Linked DNA regions of Homo sapiens: region 2 is linked to region 1. The links are contacts of gene promoters, found by promoter capture Hi-C in human tissues and cell types (Jung and others, 2019). All regions are on one chromosome and are shown on one strand. Each heading gives the region's core, a stretch centred on a gene start or on the middle of the fragment in contact. The rest is flanking DNA. Distances are from core to core; before and after follow the strand shown. Region 1 holds the start of FLII (FLII actin remodeling protein). Region 2 holds the start of SLC5A10 (solute carrier family 5 member 10).

Region 1 (5,123 bases), core at 2,238-4,737:
GGGCCACGATGGCCTGGGAATAAACCATAAGAGTCTATAATTCCTGGCTTCCACTCTCAGGAAGGAACAGAGTCTAGAGAGGGACACCTCCTCAGGCAGCTCACCAGAGGCCAGGCCTGAGGACTCTCTCACCTCTGGCCTTTGATCAAATAGCTCCCTCTCCTGGAGCGCTCTTCCTAGCCTCCCAGTGAGCTCCTATTCATGCCTCAAAGCCCAGCTCAAATGTGCCCCGGAGCCCCAGCACAGGGCCCTCAGGGAACCTTTTCTGTTCAAACCATTTCTCTTCTTCTTAATTCCAGAAGGTGAGATAGGGGTAAGGTCTGAGTCAGGGTTTTCAGAACAGAGGGAGAGAAGTGGACCACAGAGAAATCAGAATCTGGATGGAGAGGAAGTCTGCTTTCTCTCCCTAACTTAAGACTGACACCTCCTCATACCTTACAGACATGCAGAAAGCTTGAGCATGAGGGAACAGGGCCAGAGAATGGTGTCGTGACTCCAAGTGACAACGGGAGTCACCGGAGCTGCCCCGCCACTTCTCCAGTCTGAATGCCTGTGCGGCACCCTGCTGCTGCTTCACGGGGTCACTGCTGCCCCTCCCAACCACTGCACTTGCAGAGGAGGCCCAGAAGGTAGAAGCGATTTGTACAAAGTCACATCACCAGGAAGTGGCAAAGCCCAGCTTTGAACTCAGAGAGTCCAAGTCAGAAGCTGTGCCCTAAACATCTCCAGGGCTCTGACTTCAGATGGGATGGCCCTCGTTGAGGCCTACAGGGTCTGGCCAAGGGCCTGATGTTCTGGGACGTTCAAGTCTTGGGTAGAAGGTACACGGTGCTCCCGGCCAAACCCCACTCAACACCAGCTCTACCACTGCCTGGCTCTGTGACCTGGGGCAAGTAATCTGCCTTGGTGGCCAAGTTTCTCTTCTGCAACATTAGTGGAGGGCTAGAGCATATGAAAAAATCCTAACAGAATAGTGGGAACATTGCTCAGCCAGTCTTGGCTATTATTACTGTAGTTATTGTCCATAACGGCTGGTAAGATTTTGGATTTCTTTACCTTTTTCCTGATGGAATTCTCTGATCCACATGGGTTACTTTACACAGGGCACTGCTGTAACCTCTAATGAGAGGGCCCCTCTGTGACACCTGAGCCTCTGAGCCTGACACGGAGGTGGGCAGAAATGCTGGCCCAGCTTGGTGTCTAGCCCAGGCTTCACGTCCCTGACCGGACCTTGGCCCCAACCCCAAGCTCGGTGGCCTCCCGGCCAGCACTCACGCGCAGCGATGGCAGGCTGGACAGCTCCCCATGAAGCGTGGTCAGGTTGTTGTGGCTCACAGACAAGTGTTCCTGGGCCGGAATGGGGAGCACAGGCTCAGCAGGGTGGGTGGGGTGTCCAGAGTCCCTGCCTGCCTCCACAACTCTGCACCATCCAGGAAGGCCTCAGCCACACTGGCCCAACTACCCCTGCAGCTTCCCTCCCTCACTCACCCGGCCTCTTCTTGCACACCTCCCTGGACAGGGTGCCCACTCCCTTTCTTCCAGCTCTGCTCATAGCTGTCGGTGTTCCTCTCTCTGGAGAAGTTGTCTGCCTTCTCCACAGGCTCTGCCCACCTGGCTCATCCACAGGGACCCTCCCCTGCCCGCCCAAACCCCCTTACCAGCTTCTGCAGGGCGGCCAGCTCCTCGGGCAGGTAGCAGAGGCCAGTGCGGTTCAGCTTCAGCCACCGCAGGCTGGTCATGGCCTTGACATTCTCAGGGAAGTAGCCGCCCTGGGGGAAGGATGTCAAGGTGAAGCACAGAGCCCCTGCTCACCACCTTCTATGGCTCCTCCAGCCCATGGGAGCCTTTGGGGAGCCACAGAACCAACTCTCACCATCTGTGAGAACACAGACAAGTCATTTCATCATTGTGCCTCAATTTCTTCACCCATAGAATGGGAATTTTAAGCCCCCCCGTGACAAAAGTGTTGGCCTAAGATTTGTCTCTCCTACTGGATTCTGGGCCCCAGGAGGGCCAGGACAAAACTGGCTTGTTTCAGGTGAAAGCCCAGCATCCGGCTCTGTGGTTAGCTCGGCTCAAATTCCTTCACCTAGCATTCCACACTCTGACTGGCTGCCTGGGGTGGGGGATCCCCCTTCCAAGCCTTTGCAAAGGCGCCACCTGTGCCCTCATCCTGCCATCAGCACACTGGCAACTCACGGCCAGGGTCAAACCCTTGCTTGCGGAGACCGTGGCTCCCCACCCTGCAGGGCAGGCCAGCATCACTGCACTCCCCTGGTGTGTGAACGCCCACCTCGGCACCTCCAGCCCTTGTGGCACCAAGTCTGGGGCAGTAGGTGCCTTCAGTGCCTGCGGCTGATATTCCTTTCCCCCTAGCGCCACATTCCCAGCTGGTGACTCGGACTCTCCCAGTTCAGCAAAGAGGAACGGGGACCCCAGGTTAGGGTGGTGGGGATGGGGTCAGGGAAAAGTGGTGTAGCCACTTGTACTTGGGGTCAAAGGTGTGTACACAGGCAGGTAAACGCAGGAAAAACCTGCCTCCTCGGCCCCAGCCCCAGACCAACAACCCAGGCCGACCCTGCCAGTCACCCACCCTGAAGGTGAGGCTGACCCTCCAGCCAGCTCTCCCTCCCTCTCTTTCTCTGCTTCCCCTTTGGTCAGGCAATGCCTGTCTCATTCTTGAGTCCTGGAACCACCCCGCCGCCCCACCCACTGGCTGCGGAGGGCTGGGCTCCGGTCCCTTTTCTCTCAGTCCAGCAGCTGCTCAGACAACTGCCACCCAGCACCTGGCACACCGGCCTGACACACTCTCCACACCAACAAATCTCACTATACTCCTTGCGTCCAAGGAGGAGACTTTTAAGCCCCTTCACCGGCTGAGAAAGCCTAGGCTCTGAGAGGGGAAGTGATCTGAGAGGCCCAGGATCACACAGTATGGCGGGTGGCGGTGGCGGGGAGAGGGCAGTGATGAGTCGGCTCCACACCCGCCCCTGGGCAGCCGGGCAGCCATCCCTGAGTCAGGGCCTGGCTTGGGCGTGTGACCTCAGAGGGGCGGGGAGGCTCGCCCGATCCCCAGGCCACCATCCAGCCTAGACCGAGAACACGGACGCGGGGTGGGGGCTCCCGGCCGGGCCCCCGGCGGGACTCCGAGCCCAAGCGTCCGTCCCCGGCCTGCCCAGCCTCGGTCTCCCCGTACAGGCACTGGGCGGAGGCCTCGGAGGTCCATTCCTGGCCAGGGGAGAGCCCCACCCCGCCCCGGCCGCAGTCCCTGGGACACGCAGGGCCTGGAGCCGAGCGGGACAGGAAGCGGAGGCCAAGCGGGCCGGGCGGAAGAGAAGGCCTGCAGGGAGGCCCGGCACGCGCCCGGCCCGGCTCACCTTGAAGTCGTTGCCGCTGAGGTCCACGCCACGCACGAACGGCAGCACCCCGGTGGCCTCCATGGCGCCGCTCTCGCTGCCGGGCCGCGCCGGGCTAGGGAGCGCCGGGGCGAGGGCGCTGGGGGGAGCCGCGGGCTGGGCCAGCGCCGGCCCCGCCCCTTTAACCCGCCCGCGCCCGCCGCATTCCGCGGGGAAGTGTAGGCTTTAGGCCTCTTAGGGCCTCAGTTTCCCCGTCTGTTCGAAGACTGCGGAGGCACCAAGGAGTGCGGGCCCCCCCTGTGCTGGAGTTGGAGGCTTCCACGATCTCCAGGCTTAAGTCCCAGCGCCCCAGGGCAGGGGCCGTAACGGCCGCTGGTCGAGGCACCGTCACCTGCGCTGCTGCAGCACATGAAGCTGGCCCTGACCTCAGAGAGATTCTAAACCTCGGCCCCGGGGCGCAGAGGCCCAGGAAGTGCCTGTACTTGGCTGACCGGTGGTAGTGAGACACCTGGATCCTCGGGTCCTAGCTCTCCTGCTTCTGGACTTAGTTTCCTCATGTGTTGTTTTTGTTTTGTTGAGACAGGGTCTTCTTGCTCTGCTGCCCAGGCTGGAGTGCAGTGGTGTGATCATAGCTCACTGCAGCCTCGAACTCCTGGGCTCAGCCTCCCGACTACCTGGGATTATAGGCGCAGGCCACCACACCTGGCTAAATTTATTTATTTTATTTATTTTTTATTTTTTTTGAGACAGAGTCTCGCTCTGTCGCCCAGGCTGGAGTGCAGTGGCGCAGTCTCGGCTCACTGCAACCTCCGCCTCCCGGGTTCACGCCATTCTCCTGCCTCAGCCTCCCGGGTAGCTGGGACTACAGGCACCCGCCACTACGCCCGGCTAATTTTTTTTTTTTTTTTTTTTGTATTTTTAGTAGAGACGGGGTTTCACCGTGTTAGCCAGGATGGTCTCGATCTTCTGACCTCGTGATCCAACCGCCTCGGCCTCCCAAAGTGCTGGGATTACAGGCGTGAGCCACCGCGCCCGGCCTTATTTATACTTTTTGTAGACACGGGGTGCTTGCTATGTTGCCCAGGCTGGTCTTGATCTCCTGGCCTCAAGTGATCCTCTGGTATCAGCTTCTCAGAGTGTTGGGATGACAGGCGTGAGCCACCGCGCCCTACCCAGTTTCCTCATTTGTAAAATACTTTCTAAGGTTGTCACCATGAGCAAATTAACAAAGAATGCACGTGTAGCTCGCAGCATACAGCAGGCGCTCAGTGAGTGGCAGGTTATTATTCCGTTTTGTTTTGTTTTGTGCGCCAGGTTATTATTCCCACTTAGTGTCAGCACCCCTGTGCTCGTACCCCCCTACAAAGGGAGGCTCCAGAAGAGAAGCATCCGTCTTGGTCCTTGCTGTTCAAGGGGGCTCGCCCTGGCTGACACATAGCAGGACCCCAATAAATGAGCCACAGCTGTTATATGCCCAACCATCCTTCGCAGGGGAGGAGGGGGTCTAGTGTCCCCATTTTACAGGAGAAAAACTGATGCCCAGGTGGAGAATGGCCCACACAAGCTCGCACAGAGCAGGTGGCAGGGGTAGGCGCTGTGCCCCTCAGGCCCACAGGTAAGAATGAGGCCACCAAGACACTCTCTCGCAGAGGTGACCTAAGAGGTTGGATGTGCCGGGCCTCTAGCCATGTGCAGCCTCTCTACCTGGTCCCCAGAAGGAACGGGGCCCAGACAGCTTCCTCCACACCGGAGGCTCACATTACAACG
Region 2 (4,785 bases), core at 174-2,673, 690 kb after region 1:
GTCTCCCTCTGTTGCCCAGGCTGGACTGCAATGGCGCAGTCTTGGCTCACTGCAATCTCTACCTCCTGAGTTCAAGCAATTCTCCTGCCTCAGCCTCCCAAGTAGCTGGGATTACAGGTGCGTACCACCATGTCTGGCTAATTTTTGTATTTTTAGTAGAGACGAGGTTTTGCCATGTTGGCCAGGCTGGTCTCAAACTCCTGATCTCAGGTGATCCACCCGCCTTGGCCTCCCAAAGGCATGAGCCTCCCAAGGGCATGAGCCACTGCTCCTGGCCGAGGGGATTAATTTTTACCCGCACCTCAGGGTTATTGAGTAACAGGCTGGCTGGGTTTGCAGGCCAGCGTGTTCCTGGTGGCAGCCGCTCACTCATTAACACTTCTGGAAGTGCTGCATGTCTGGTTAAACTGCAAATGCTTTGCAAAGTCACGAGTCATGTCACTGAGCAGAGGCGTGAGACTGCCGGCCAGCCCTGCTGTGTACACTGATAGAATTAGTGAGCGAGCGTCCCACTCTGATGGAATCCAGATGGAACTCGTCACTGTCACTGCGGTGGAGACGGTGGGGCCACATCTGCACTGAATCCTACTCTGCGCCTTCAATGGCTGCGTAATGGCGGATGGCCATTTCCTTGACTAGGATGAGACATTGCCTACTCTGCGTGGCTGCTGTGAGCGTGAAATGGGATCATGTGCGGAACAGCCACGCATGGTCCGTGAAATGGGATCATGTGCAGAACAGCCACGCATGGTCCTTGGTGTGTGACAGATATTGGGTCCCTCTGTGGTCCCAGGCAGACATTGCCCGGGGTGGGGGCCGAATGCATGGTCAAGTTGAGGGGCCTGGGACTGTTTCACGGGTCTAGAAAAAGAAAGCAGAAACGCTGGAAGCAGGACTTTATTGTCCGACATGGGGCTGCCTCTGAGCCTGGGCTGTGTTGGCTGGACGTGAGCCATAATGCAGGTGTCCCCCTCCCAAGCCCTGCTCAGTCCACTCACAGCCCGATGGCCAAGGGAGGACATGGCTGCCCGCCACGGCAGTATCTTCAGAGGTGAGGCGGTTGTCCCTACGCTCTATGCTTCTTATACAAATTAGATATAGGTGAAGCCACCCATTAAGCAACCCAGCCTTTCTGGGACTATTTGGGCTGCCTCCGGGTCCACTAAATGCGGTTCATTTTCCCCAAGCCCCCTCCGAGTTCAAGGAGGCTCCTTCCTTTCCTCCTCCCACTTGCTTCTCCCAGGCTCCCTGACTCCTGCGCTCTGGGATCTGCACCCCACCATGGGGTGAGGAAGCTGAACTGCATGGTGAGGCAGCTGCCCTGCATGCAGCCACATCATGGGCTGGAGATGCCACTGTCCGCTTGGTTTAATGATCAATGAGCTCCCTGCCAGGAAACCCTTTCTGACCTGGTTTGCCCCTCAGTCCCTCGGGCTCATACCTAGTGCCTGCGGCAGGACAGCCATGGCCGCCAACTCCACCAGCGACCTCCACACTCCCGGGACGCAGCTGAGCGTGGCTGACATCATCGTCATCACTGTGTATTTTGCTCTGAATGTGGCCGTGGGCATATGGGTAAGGGGACCTGTGGTGGTGTTGGCCAAGTGGGCTCTCAGGGTTGGTGCTTGGGGTGGGAACCGGGGTCCAGCATGTCCCTGTGGTGTCAGCATTGGTCCCAGCTGGTGGCCTAGTGATCCTTGTGGTCCTCCTCCCAGCCTGGGGTAGACTTGCTTGGAGACCTTGACCAAGCCCGTTTCTCTCTTTGGGTAATGGCGTCTCCATCTGCAAAGTGAGGAGGAGGAAATTCTCTCTAACAGGTAACTGGGCTTTTGTGCTGCTGCCCAGCTGGAGTCCTTGGGTGTGGCCCATCAGCCTCCTGGTCCCAGTCTCCATGGTGTCAGTGACTCCTGTCTGCTTGAACAACAGGCTCCCCGGGATTCCCTGGCTGCACCCCAGAGCTGCTGGATCAGAATCCGGAGGCAGGGAGGGCCCTGGGAACTGGGGGTCTTTATTTTGAACAAGCTCCCTGGGGATTTATGTCCTGTGGCCTAGCCCTAGATCATAAGCCGGTTCTTTCTCCCTTCATAACAGTGAGAAATGAGCAGAGATCTGACCCCACACACAGATTCCAGGGGCAGCGGGGCCCCTGGGGACAGGCTGTTTCATGTGCAGATGGAGAAACCGAGGCTCTGGCCCTGCAGCAAGGGAAGGGCTCCTCTGGTCTATCGTGGAGGCCTTCCTGAGGGAAGGTGGACACAGCCTGGTTCAGGTCACCTGCTCCACGCTTAGCGCCTGGGGATGTTGGGCTCCACTTCTTAAGCCCCAGAGGTCCCCAGCCTGGCATCCCTGAGCCCTGACAGTCTCCTGGGGAGAATGAGTACCCCTTCTTTTTTTTTTTTTTTTTTTTTAACTGAGACGGAGTCTAGCACTGTCACCTGGGCTGGAGTGCAGTGGCACTATCTCGGCTCACTGCAACCTCCACCTCCTGGGTTCAAACAATTCTGCCTCAGCCTCCTGAGTAGCTGGGATTACAGGCGTCCACTACCACACCCAGGTAATGTTTTGTATTTTTAGTAGAGACAGAGTTTTACCGTGTTGGCCAGGCTAGTCTCGAACTCCTGACCTCATGATTTGCCCGCCTCGGCCTCCCAAAGTGCTAGAATTACAGGCGTGAGCCACCGCGCCCGGCCGAGTACCCGTTCTTATCTTCCATAACCCCTGGCCTAAGCACGAAGGCCTGGCAAACAGGAGACTGGTCACGTCCCCTCAGCTTCCTGGGCCTCAGTGTTCTGATCTGTTATATGGAGACACCACCTACCTGGGGTGAGGTCTGCTATCAAGGGGCCCACACAGGACCAGACCTTGCTGCTGCCATTGGTTCTACAGTGGTAGCAGTGGTGGTGGTGGTGGCAGTTGTAGCAGTGGTGATTATAAGAGTAGCAGCCGCAGTCATTAAAATTAATTATCACAGGTTGGATTTCAAAAATCTGAAACCCAAAATCTGGAACATTTTGAACACCAACATGATGCTCAAAGCAAATGCTCATTGGAGCATCTCAGATTTTAGAGTTTTGGGTTGGGGATGTTCAACTGGCAGGTATTCTGTAAGTATCTCCAAATCTGAAAGAGTCCGAAATCCAAAACTTTTCTGGTTTCAAATATTTCGGATAACGGCTCCTCAACCTGTATGTGATTAAATATTAACTCACAAGTAGCCCAGTGCTGGCCATCGGCAAAGCCGAGTTCAAGTCTCGGCTCTGCTCTGTGTACTTAAGTCACTTAATCTCTGTGGGCTTCAGTTTCCTCAAACACGCAATGCGGGTTTCTGTGCAGCCCACATCTCAGGGCTGTTCCAAGGAGCAAGGGTCCAATGGAAGTGAAAATCTGTTGCAAACTGTAACGTGCTATATTCCTGTGACAGTTGGTGGCTAGAATTCAGAGGAGGAGGTGCCCACGTGGGGCAGAACAGACAGTGGAGGGTTTCTGGATGAGGGGAGGTAAGGGCCAGGCAAGATCTGAAGAGGGAAAGAGGAGGGGAGACAAGGCTGTCCTGGCTAGCACGTCTAAGAAAGATGTTCTGGGCACCTGAGGCCAGACCCTTTGTAGCCCAGTGACTTGGGCCACCAGCCCTTGTTGCCCATGACCCACCTCTCCTAGTGAGTCAGCTTGCTGTTTGCAGGCTGGTGCCCCTGGAAGTAGGGCTGTAGGAGTTCTGCCCTGTCCCTCCTAGCAGGCTAGGCTGGCCCAGCTGGGAGCGGCTGGCAAGAGAGCAGTGAGCACATCCAGAAAAGATCAGAACCAGACAGGGAGGATGCTGGAGATGCATCCCACAGGGAGAAGCAGACAGAGCAAGCCAGGCAGGTGCAGCCCTGCAAAGATGTTTAGATGGTGGGCCTGGGAGAGTCTGGCGGGGGCCGGGGGGAGGCCTTTAAGGAAGAGATGTTCCTGGAGGAGGGGACTTTGAGCTGAGCCTTTGCATTCATTAAAGTATCTGTTAACAAGTGACTGAAAACTGCTTTCAAATGAGCTCTAAGAATATAGGAAATGTAGGCCGGGCGCAGTGGCTCATGCCTGTAATCCCAGCACTTTGGGAGGCCTAGGCGGGTGGATCACGAGGTCAGGAGTTTGAGACCAGCCTGGCCAGCATGGTGAAAGCCCGTCTCTACTTTTGTATTATTTTGTGATAATACAAAAATTAGCCAGGCGTGGTGCCAGGCGCCTGTAATCCCAGCTACTCAGGAGGCTGAGGCAGGAGAATTGCTTGAAACCGGAAGGCGGAGGTCGCAATGAGCTGAGATCACGCCACTGCACTCCAGCATGGGCAAAAGAGTGAAACACTGTATCAAAAAAAAAAAAAAAAAAAAAAAAAGAATTCAGGAAATGTAATTGTGTCCAGCAATAGAAAGGGCTTCAGGTGCAGTATGATCCAGGGATTCACAGCATTATTAAGGATACAGCTACACCTCACTTTGGTTCTCTCAGCCTCCATCCATGTGTAGCTCTGTCCTAAGCCCAGCTCCCCTCGTGTCCTGATGTGAAATGACCAGCCCTGCGATTGAGCCTGAGTTGAAATCCAGGCTGCACCACTTGCTAGATGGGTGTGTTTTCATCTCTGAGACCATCAGTTTCCTCATTGGTAACATGGCACCTGCTTCATAGAGCTGTTGCGAGGACTAAGAACTCCACACAGATCAAGAAGTTGAAGCCAACTCTGGCATGGGGGCCTTCGGGGAACCTTAAATGGGTACATGTGGCCCCCAGCAACTGCCAGCAGCCCCCAGAGCC

Evidence for each region. The method cuts DNA at HindIII sites, captures the fragments that hold promoters and counts their contacts. A contact is called where the count stands out against the background at its distance.
Region 2: a contact is called between the fragment with the promoter of SLC5A10 here and the fragment with the promoter of FLII in region 1, in 1 of the 25 tissues and cell types used here (spleen).

What each region holds. Positions count from the first base shown.
Region 1 is chr17:18,255,251-18,260,373 of GRCh38, forward strand. It overlaps FLII (FLII actin remodeling protein), which reads right to left and starts at 3,488. Exons shown (of 30, transcript NM_002018.4): 1 at 3,378-3,488; 2 at 1,659-1,769; 3 at 1,276-1,347; 4 at 1-13. The coding sequence starts at 3,440. RefSeq lists enhancers at 1,454-2,120, 2,780-2,859, 2,859-3,360, 4,970-5,099 and silencers at 3,030-3,169, 3,180-3,579. The HindIII fragment of the contact is 13,885 bases long and covers 60-5,123 here.
Region 2 is chr17:18,950,742-18,955,526 of GRCh38, forward strand. SLC5A10 (solute carrier family 5 member 10) reads left to right here and starts at 1,424. Exons shown (of 15, transcript NM_001042450.4): 1 at 1,424-1,575. The coding sequence starts at 1,465. The HindIII fragment of the contact is 13,514 bases long and covers 1-4,785 here.